Regions from separate parts of the Homo sapiens genome. Here region 1 is linked to region 2. The links are contacts of gene promoters, found by promoter capture Hi-C in blood cells and fetal thymus (Javierre and others, 2016). All regions are on one chromosome and are shown on one strand. Each heading gives the region's core, a stretch centred on a gene start or on the middle of the fragment in contact. The rest is flanking DNA. Distances are from core to core; before and after follow the strand shown.

The links. Contacts are between HindIII fragments. The CHiCAGO score rates a contact against its expected background, and 5 or more counts as called.
Region 1: a fragment that was not itself captured here is called in contact with the fragment with the promoter of LRRC40 in region 2 in 1 of 17 cell types (neutrophils); the score reaches 7.7 in neutrophils.

Annotation. Positions count from the first base shown.
Region 1 is chr1:67,673,426-67,677,144 of GRCh38, forward strand. No RefSeq gene overlaps it. Among named protein-coding and RNA genes, the nearest start is that of GADD45A, 9.9 kb to the right of the region's middle. The HindIII fragment of the contact is 5,084 bases long and covers 1-3,719 here.
Region 2 is chr1:70,203,306-70,206,976 of GRCh38, forward strand. LRRC40 (leucine rich repeat containing 40) reads right to left here and starts at 2,274. Exons shown (of 15, transcript NM_017768.5): 1 at 2,085-2,274. The coding sequence starts at 2,235. It also overlaps a transcript of SRSF11 not described here. RefSeq lists enhancers at 1,868-1,927, 2,188-2,497. The HindIII fragment of the contact is 8,465 bases long and covers 1-3,671 here.

The sequences.
Region 1 (3,719 bases), core at 770-3,269, 2.5 Mb before region 2:
ATGAGCTCATACACATCATGATTGGGCCACTGCACTCCAGCCTGGGTGACAGAGAAAGACCTTGTCAAAAAAGAAAAGAAAAGAAGAAAAGAAGAAAGGAAGGAAGAAAGGAAGGAAGGAAGGAAGAAAGGAAGGAAGGAAGAAAGAAAGAAAGAAAGAAAGAAACAAAGAAACAAAGAAACAAAGAAACAAAGAAACAAAGAAAGAAAGAAAAAGAAAGAAAGAAAGAAAGGAAGGAAGGAGAGAAGGAAGGAAGGAAGCAAGGAAGGAAGGAAGCAAGGAAGGAAGGATGGACAATAAAGGAACATTGCTTACATTTTGAGGTATATCCATCCACACTTTTTTTTGCACACACATACATACACACTATGGATTCATATAGAGTGTAGTGCCTTCTAATTTCTTTATAAACAGTATACTGAGAACATACATAAAAGGTTCTTTGTAATTACCTCTTGAAGAATTAATTTGCTAAACTGCATAAAAATCAGAATCCTAAATTTGTTTCCAAAACTTTTGGAGTGTACAATATTCCATCATCATTACCATCAACACTTGTTGAATATCAAATGTCATCCCTAAAGAGTTTTCTTGACAAAGAATGATCTTTTGCTAATGTTGCTAAATCTTAACTGCTAGATGATCACTAACAGTAAATTTTTAAGCTGGTACCGGATTTATGATCAGCTTCAACTAACATTCTAGTGTTCTTAGTGACTAAGTACAACAAGTATCACCTCAGAATTTATTCTTCTATTCCCCTCATATTACTAAGCTGTTAGAAGATCCAATTTATGGCATGTTGCTATTATATTCATTGTTTAATTTGGGTAGATTCTAATTTAATACAGGGACCCACATAATTGTATGGCTAGACTGTTGTGATCTACATCCTCATAAAATTTATCACAATATGAGCTCATACACGCAAATCTCACATTTATATCAGCAGTTCAAACCACATCAAACTTAAGACATAATATTTGAAGTCAGCAAAGCCACAGCCCACCTCTAACACTTCCTAAAAAATCCATTGCTAAATCTAGTTCACCAAGAAGATGGCATATGGGTAAATATTCTAGTGAGTCCTTTGCTGGTTTCCTGATGGTGCTACATAGACTCAGACAGAAGGAGAATTACTTGGAACTACCCAGAAAATGAGAAGAGCAAGGACTAGAAGCAAAGATTTGTGAGAAAGGGAAATGTCTTTTGCTTTACACTTTTTGGCAAATGATAAAAGGCAGCTTTAGTGACAGCAGCCAGATGGAGATCAAATGACAACTGTGAGTTCATAATGGTCTCCAGCATCCTGGCAAGCAGAGGGGCAGTAGGGGAAGTGGGAGGGGTCAGCTTTCCTGGTACTACAAGTCAATCTGGTGCACATCAGTGTTATCTGACGTCAGCTAAACCCAGTTCTGAGGCACTACATCGGGACCAGCTGCCACATACTGAAAGCACCCTGGCCTGCCTCTGTGCACTCCCTGAACTCCTCCTGCCCATAACATTTACAGGGTGCTACCAGTTAATTTATGTTCCCCACACCAGGGAGGATCCAGATGTCGAGGCTGCAGTTGCTGATTTGAAAGGAGCTCACAAATACAGGAAGCTCTCAGAGGATAAAAGAAAACATGAGTATTTTACAGTGAACTTGAGAAACTCATTGTTCTGTATTAAAAAACACGCACACGAGAAGTGTTTGAATAACATCAAGCCTGTTCCTTAGCATGCACAGAAACACATGATTCACATTATCAAAACTGCCTAAAAAGGCTGGTTGTGGTGGCTCACATCTCTAATCCTAGCACTTTGGGAGGCTGAAATGGGTGGATTACTTGAGGCCAGGAATTCAAGACCAGCCTGGTCAACATGGTGAAACTGCATCTCTACTAAAAATGCAAAAATTAGCCAGGCATGGTGGCGCAGGCCTGCAGTCTCAGCTACTCTGGAGGCTGAGGCACGAGAATCACTTGAGCCCGGGAGGCAGAGGTTGCAGTGAACCGAGGTTGCAGTGAGCCGAGTTCATGCCACTGCACTCCAGCCTGGGCGACAGAGCAAGACCCTATCTCAAACAAACAAGGAAACAAAAACAAAAACAAAAAACGGCCTAAAGATCTAAAATGCACTGATGGGGGAACCTCGGTTCATCTATAGTTAGAAAGGGAACATGTATATTGGATCTACCTGTGGCTGCCATCAAAATTCAGGGGAATTTTCACAGCAGTAAGGACGGACCAGGAAGTCCAGTCAGTACTTTTGCTGTTAGCAATGATGCCTCAAATGTTAGAGAAAATGGAAATAAATACAATATTTTACTTAGATGAAGGAATTAAGAACAAAGAAAATTAGAAAGGACATTGGAAAATGGGTGCCATCTAATTAATATTCATGGTGTCCTGCTACATGCAGTGTACTCTAAGTGCTGTGTGTATTTTGTCTCATTTGATTTTCATCATAAGTTTAAGAGACAGCGTTTGTCAGAAAAGAGGCAAAAGAGCTTAGATGGCTTGCCCAAGCCTGATTCCAGAGTCTGCATTCTGAACACTACACTCTGATGCCACGTGAACCACAGCTGTTCTAGAGAAGCATAATATGTGGTTAAGAATGTGAGATTTGCAGTCCCACAGATGTGCATTTGCATCTTGCCCTGGCCATTTAGCTAGGGGTCTTTTGAGTTAGTAACTAGTTTAACCTCTCCAGTAGGCTACAGCTTACTTAGCAATAAAATGAAGATAATAGTATCTATCTCATAGATTGTTGTGAGGGCTTAGTGACATCATGTAAATAAAAATTTACCATAGTGCTAAGCATGATAAGCATTTAGCAAATTAGTATTTTTTCTTCTTTTTATATTTTAAAAATTTATTTTAATTTTTTTAGAGATGGAGGTCTCACTGTGTTGCCCAGGCTGGTCTTGGACTCCTGGTTTACATGATGTCATGGTCTCAAGTGATCCTCCCTCCTCAGCCCCCTGAGTAGCTGGGATTATAGTCGCAAGCCACCATCCCAGCACAAATTAATATTCTTACTAATAAATAAAGCCTAGGGGAGGATCACTTGAGCCTGGGAGTTGGAGGCTGCAGTGAACTGAGATTGCGCCACTGCACTCCAGCCTGGGTGACAGAGGGAGACCCTGCCTAAAACAAACAAACAAAAACAAATAAACAAACTAAAATAAGGTCTGGTGGGGGTAGGGGAGGAAGTGTCTTTAAAGGAGCTGGCAGGCCTTGAATCTATTATAGTGTTGAGGACAGCATAACTTCTGAATTTTCTAAACATCTCTGGAAGCCAACTCACTGCTGCACACAGATTTCATGAGAAAATCTTCTAAAGGGATGCACATAGGTTGAAGTTTTGACATGTCTGAGTTTTGGAAATTATGCTAAGTGTCTTTTCATTAAACTTGGAGAAGAATGAAGGGCAATGCTCATATCATAGGTGACAACCTGAGAAAAAGTAAATTGCAGAGCACTGTAAAAACCCAGTGTTTAAGGACTCCTCATAGCTAGAACCAAATAAATTAGGATTTCCCCTGTGGTTAGATTTAAGGCAAATACAGCTTCAGGATCACAGATGGACTTGTTTTGATAGTTTACATAAAAGATATAAATCCAAACTTATAAAATGGAGTAGAGGGTCCAGTTGCTAGGGATAATTAGGGACACGCCAAATTAACCAAACTTAATTCAGATGGTCATTAAACAGTGACCCCACCTGGTTTT
Region 2 (3,671 bases), core at 1,024-3,523:
GGGAAGTCATTAAACGTTTTGAGTGATGTAAGATCTGTTTTGGAAAAATAACTCTTGGTAATGACACTAGGATTTAGAGTGTGAGGGTAGTTGTTGTTGTTGTTTATGGACAGGGTCTCACAATATTGTCCAAGCTAGAGTGCAGTGGCTATTCACAGGTGTGATCATAAGGCACTACAGCCTTAAACTCCTGGACTCAAGTGATCCTCCTGCCTCAGCCTCTGGAGTAGCAAGAGTGAGATGTAAAGTAAAAACTCCAGGAAACCAACTAGAAGGTGCTGCCATGATAACAGCAATGGTGAATTTTTACTGTGTACTTTTTATGTACCAGGCACTTTATTTCATTTTATCTCATTTAGACCTTAATAGGTCCTGTTATGACTCCTGCATAATAAATGAGAAATTAGGGCACAGAGTGATTAACCATCTCAATGTTATGTGAGCAAAGATAGGAAGATAAGAAGCACGACCCCGTAACGAACTACAAACAGTTCAGAATTATAGTGGTTTGCCTATCAAAGTTTCACTAACAAGTGATGAAACTGAGGGCTACATACAGCCAGACAGAGAAAGACTTTCTATATTATAGTAACAGGGATTCCTTTTTTATATATAAGCTACAAATACCATGAGTTTCTGCCATTTATATCTTTCCCTCCTATGAAATGCTGTTTATTCACTCATTTAAAATCATTTTATGTACCAGGTAAAGTGTTAGGTTCTGGTTATATAACAATAACCTAAGCAGTTCTAATCCATATCATCACGGACCTAAGAGTCAGAATCCATGTGCTCTCTTAAAGTTTAACAGACGAAACCACCTGAGTCTAGTCAATAAGTACATTCTAGCACACCACTTATGATTTGAGAATACTCATTCACTTACTTATTGCTTCCGCAAAATTTAATAAGACTCTACTATGTACCAAGCACTATTTTCAGTGATAGAAATACAACAAAGCACAAAACAAAGCTCACTGACTTCATGATATTAACCTTTTGGTTGGAGGGCAGAGAAAACAAAAAACATAAATGATATAAATTCTGATAGTGATAAATGCTGTTAAAAAATTAAACAGGTAAGAGAACAGAATGTTAGCATGATAGGTATGCAAGTTTAGAGAAAAATGTTTCAGGTTTTGGGGAAACCAAGTAGATATATATATATGCACAACTGTAGTTTGAAAATGAGTATGTTCCCATTGATCAAAAACTCTTTTAGGTGGAGTAAGGATTCTGTGTCTTTTCATTCATTCAGAAGCATTTGCTTGCCTAATCTACTTTATACATGTCACAATAAGAAAGCAATCATTAGAAGGAAAATGGAAGGTTTTAATCAGTCTTAAAACCTAAATATAAATGAAGAAAAACATTACAGGAAAAATGCTCTATTTCTCCATCTCTCCATTCCCCTCCCTCTCTCTCTTACACACACACACACACACACACACACACGACAATCAGAAGAGCATCTGGCCATTCATTCATGGTACCCAGATTTGTGCTTCTTGGTCTTTAACAGGTTTCTCAGGATGTCCCCACATTCAAACACTCTGTGTGGCATCTATCCTGATCTTCAACTTAGAAAATATACTCATTATTCCTTGTAAGTAGAACTCTGCACAGCTGCATACAGAAGAGCGTCTCGGCAGGGAACAGTGCAGGTTCACAAAGGGGCCGATAAAACATATAATTTTAGCTTTGGTAATTGCCCTTGAAGATTACAATAAGAGGAGGAAAATAAGGGCCAAAGAAACAAAAGATTTGCCCGTGATTTGATAGCTGGTTTCGTCACATATTATGTTGCTTATCCCACAGAATGTGGGAATCCCAGAAAGCGCCCCGTTTAAATTTAGACCGTATTTTTAGCAGGGTCCCTTTAACAGAGATTGCGGGAACCTGGGAAGGAACTGAACTGGGCTAACCAAACCGGTCGAAATGAGCACAGGGATTAGATTAGAGCACAGAAATTCTGGCTAGCAGTCTGAGAAAGGGGGCCAAAGCCAGCCCAGAGAAAAGGGAGGTTGCCTGGGCCAAAGGCTTTCTGACAGGAGACACAATAGGGTCGTACCTCTGGGTCTTACCTTCACTGAGGTTTCTACCCGACAGGTTTAACTGGCCGCTCTTCCTCGCTGCCTTCAACAGCCCTTGGGGTACCGAGGTACCGCAGTCTCTTCCACCTGCTTTGAAACCAGCGCGGAGATCCTGCCCCGCTATCCGCTTCAGGCGCGACATGTTCAAAGTCCTAGGTCCAGAAGCTGCAGCCCCACCCGTGACGCTTAAAGGTGGCGCCGTTGGGATGCCCCGCTCCTTTCGTGAGCGCGCGCTCTGGGCGCTGGGCTCGCGGCCTCGCGCTGGGCCTTCACTCTCTGCGGCGCAGTCCAGATGTCGTCAGCACCAGCGCCTGGGCTGGAGGACAGAGAAGCCTTTTCCGTTGCCGGTGCCGGCCTAGCGTCCTGGAATTACTTCAATCAAGTAAGTGCGTTTAACGGGCTTAAGAGGGGCTTTCGGGTTTATTGTTTGCACTGTTACTGCGACTCCAACCTTCTCCTCTGTGCTTCCACCGTGGCGAGGGTGTGGGGAAAGAGAACCCTCTCTTCTCCCCTCTCCTAGTCTGAACGTGGGCCTTGACTAAAACTTGAGATCTGGGCGCGGTCGGCAGCGTTTCTGGACCCCAGCCTGTGTTTGTCGCTTGTGGTGGTGGCGCCAGACCTCTGGCGTACGGAGTAAAAGAAATTTTCTGTTCTTAAGGCTTGTACTCTGACACCATTCTCGTTGTATTGAGGGTATATAGCTTACCCAGCAAAGGAGGTAATGTGAAATGGAAGGACTGGCAACATAGAAGACAAAAACAAAAATCCTTAAAATTTAATAAATGTTCTGTGTATCAGACAGTTTAGGGAGACAAGTAGTGGTACATGCTTTAGTGAAGCTCAGACAGCTTGGATTTTTGAGCCCTAAAAAGCAAGTTCAAATCTCAGCTGCTTCTTTACTTTAGAAACTGTTAACTTTAGGCAGTTTACTCAACCGCTTTTAAAGCTCATTCCTTTTTTTCATTACTTTGGGGATAATTCCTACCGCATAAGGTTTTTGAAATAAGTGAAGATAAAAACTAGAATCTTGAGCTCTCGGTGAGTCCAGAATAATAGCAAATGAAAATTTTGTTCAATGTAAGTCGGTGTTTCCTAGGAAATTAAAATTTTCATCTGAAATGTACAACTTCTTGATTCAACAAGTAATTATTAAGATTAATCCTGCCTAGTATGTGTACTATCCTGGGTGCTAGACTTTTCTTTTGCCTGAAATGATTTTGTTTTAAAAGCATATGCCAGGGAATACCATTCTAACCCCCATCAAGTCTACTGAGGATTGGTAGAATAGTTGAAAGCTAGGATGAAGGCCCTTTGATCAATTCTTCATCACGCACTTTTACCTGAGTCCAGGTTATTGCTACCTGTAAAATTCGGTTTTTAACTCTACCCTTTTTGTTCTTATTTCTGTGGAGTCCTTTACACTAATATCGAACAAGAGAAAGTTACCAATAGTTGTTACCCTACTAAAAAAGCAAAGAGTGGATTTTTGTCTTTTTTTTTTTTTTTTTTTTGAGACAAAGTCTGGTCTGTCGCCTAGGCTGGAATGCAGTGGCGTGATCCCGGCTCACTGCAACCTCC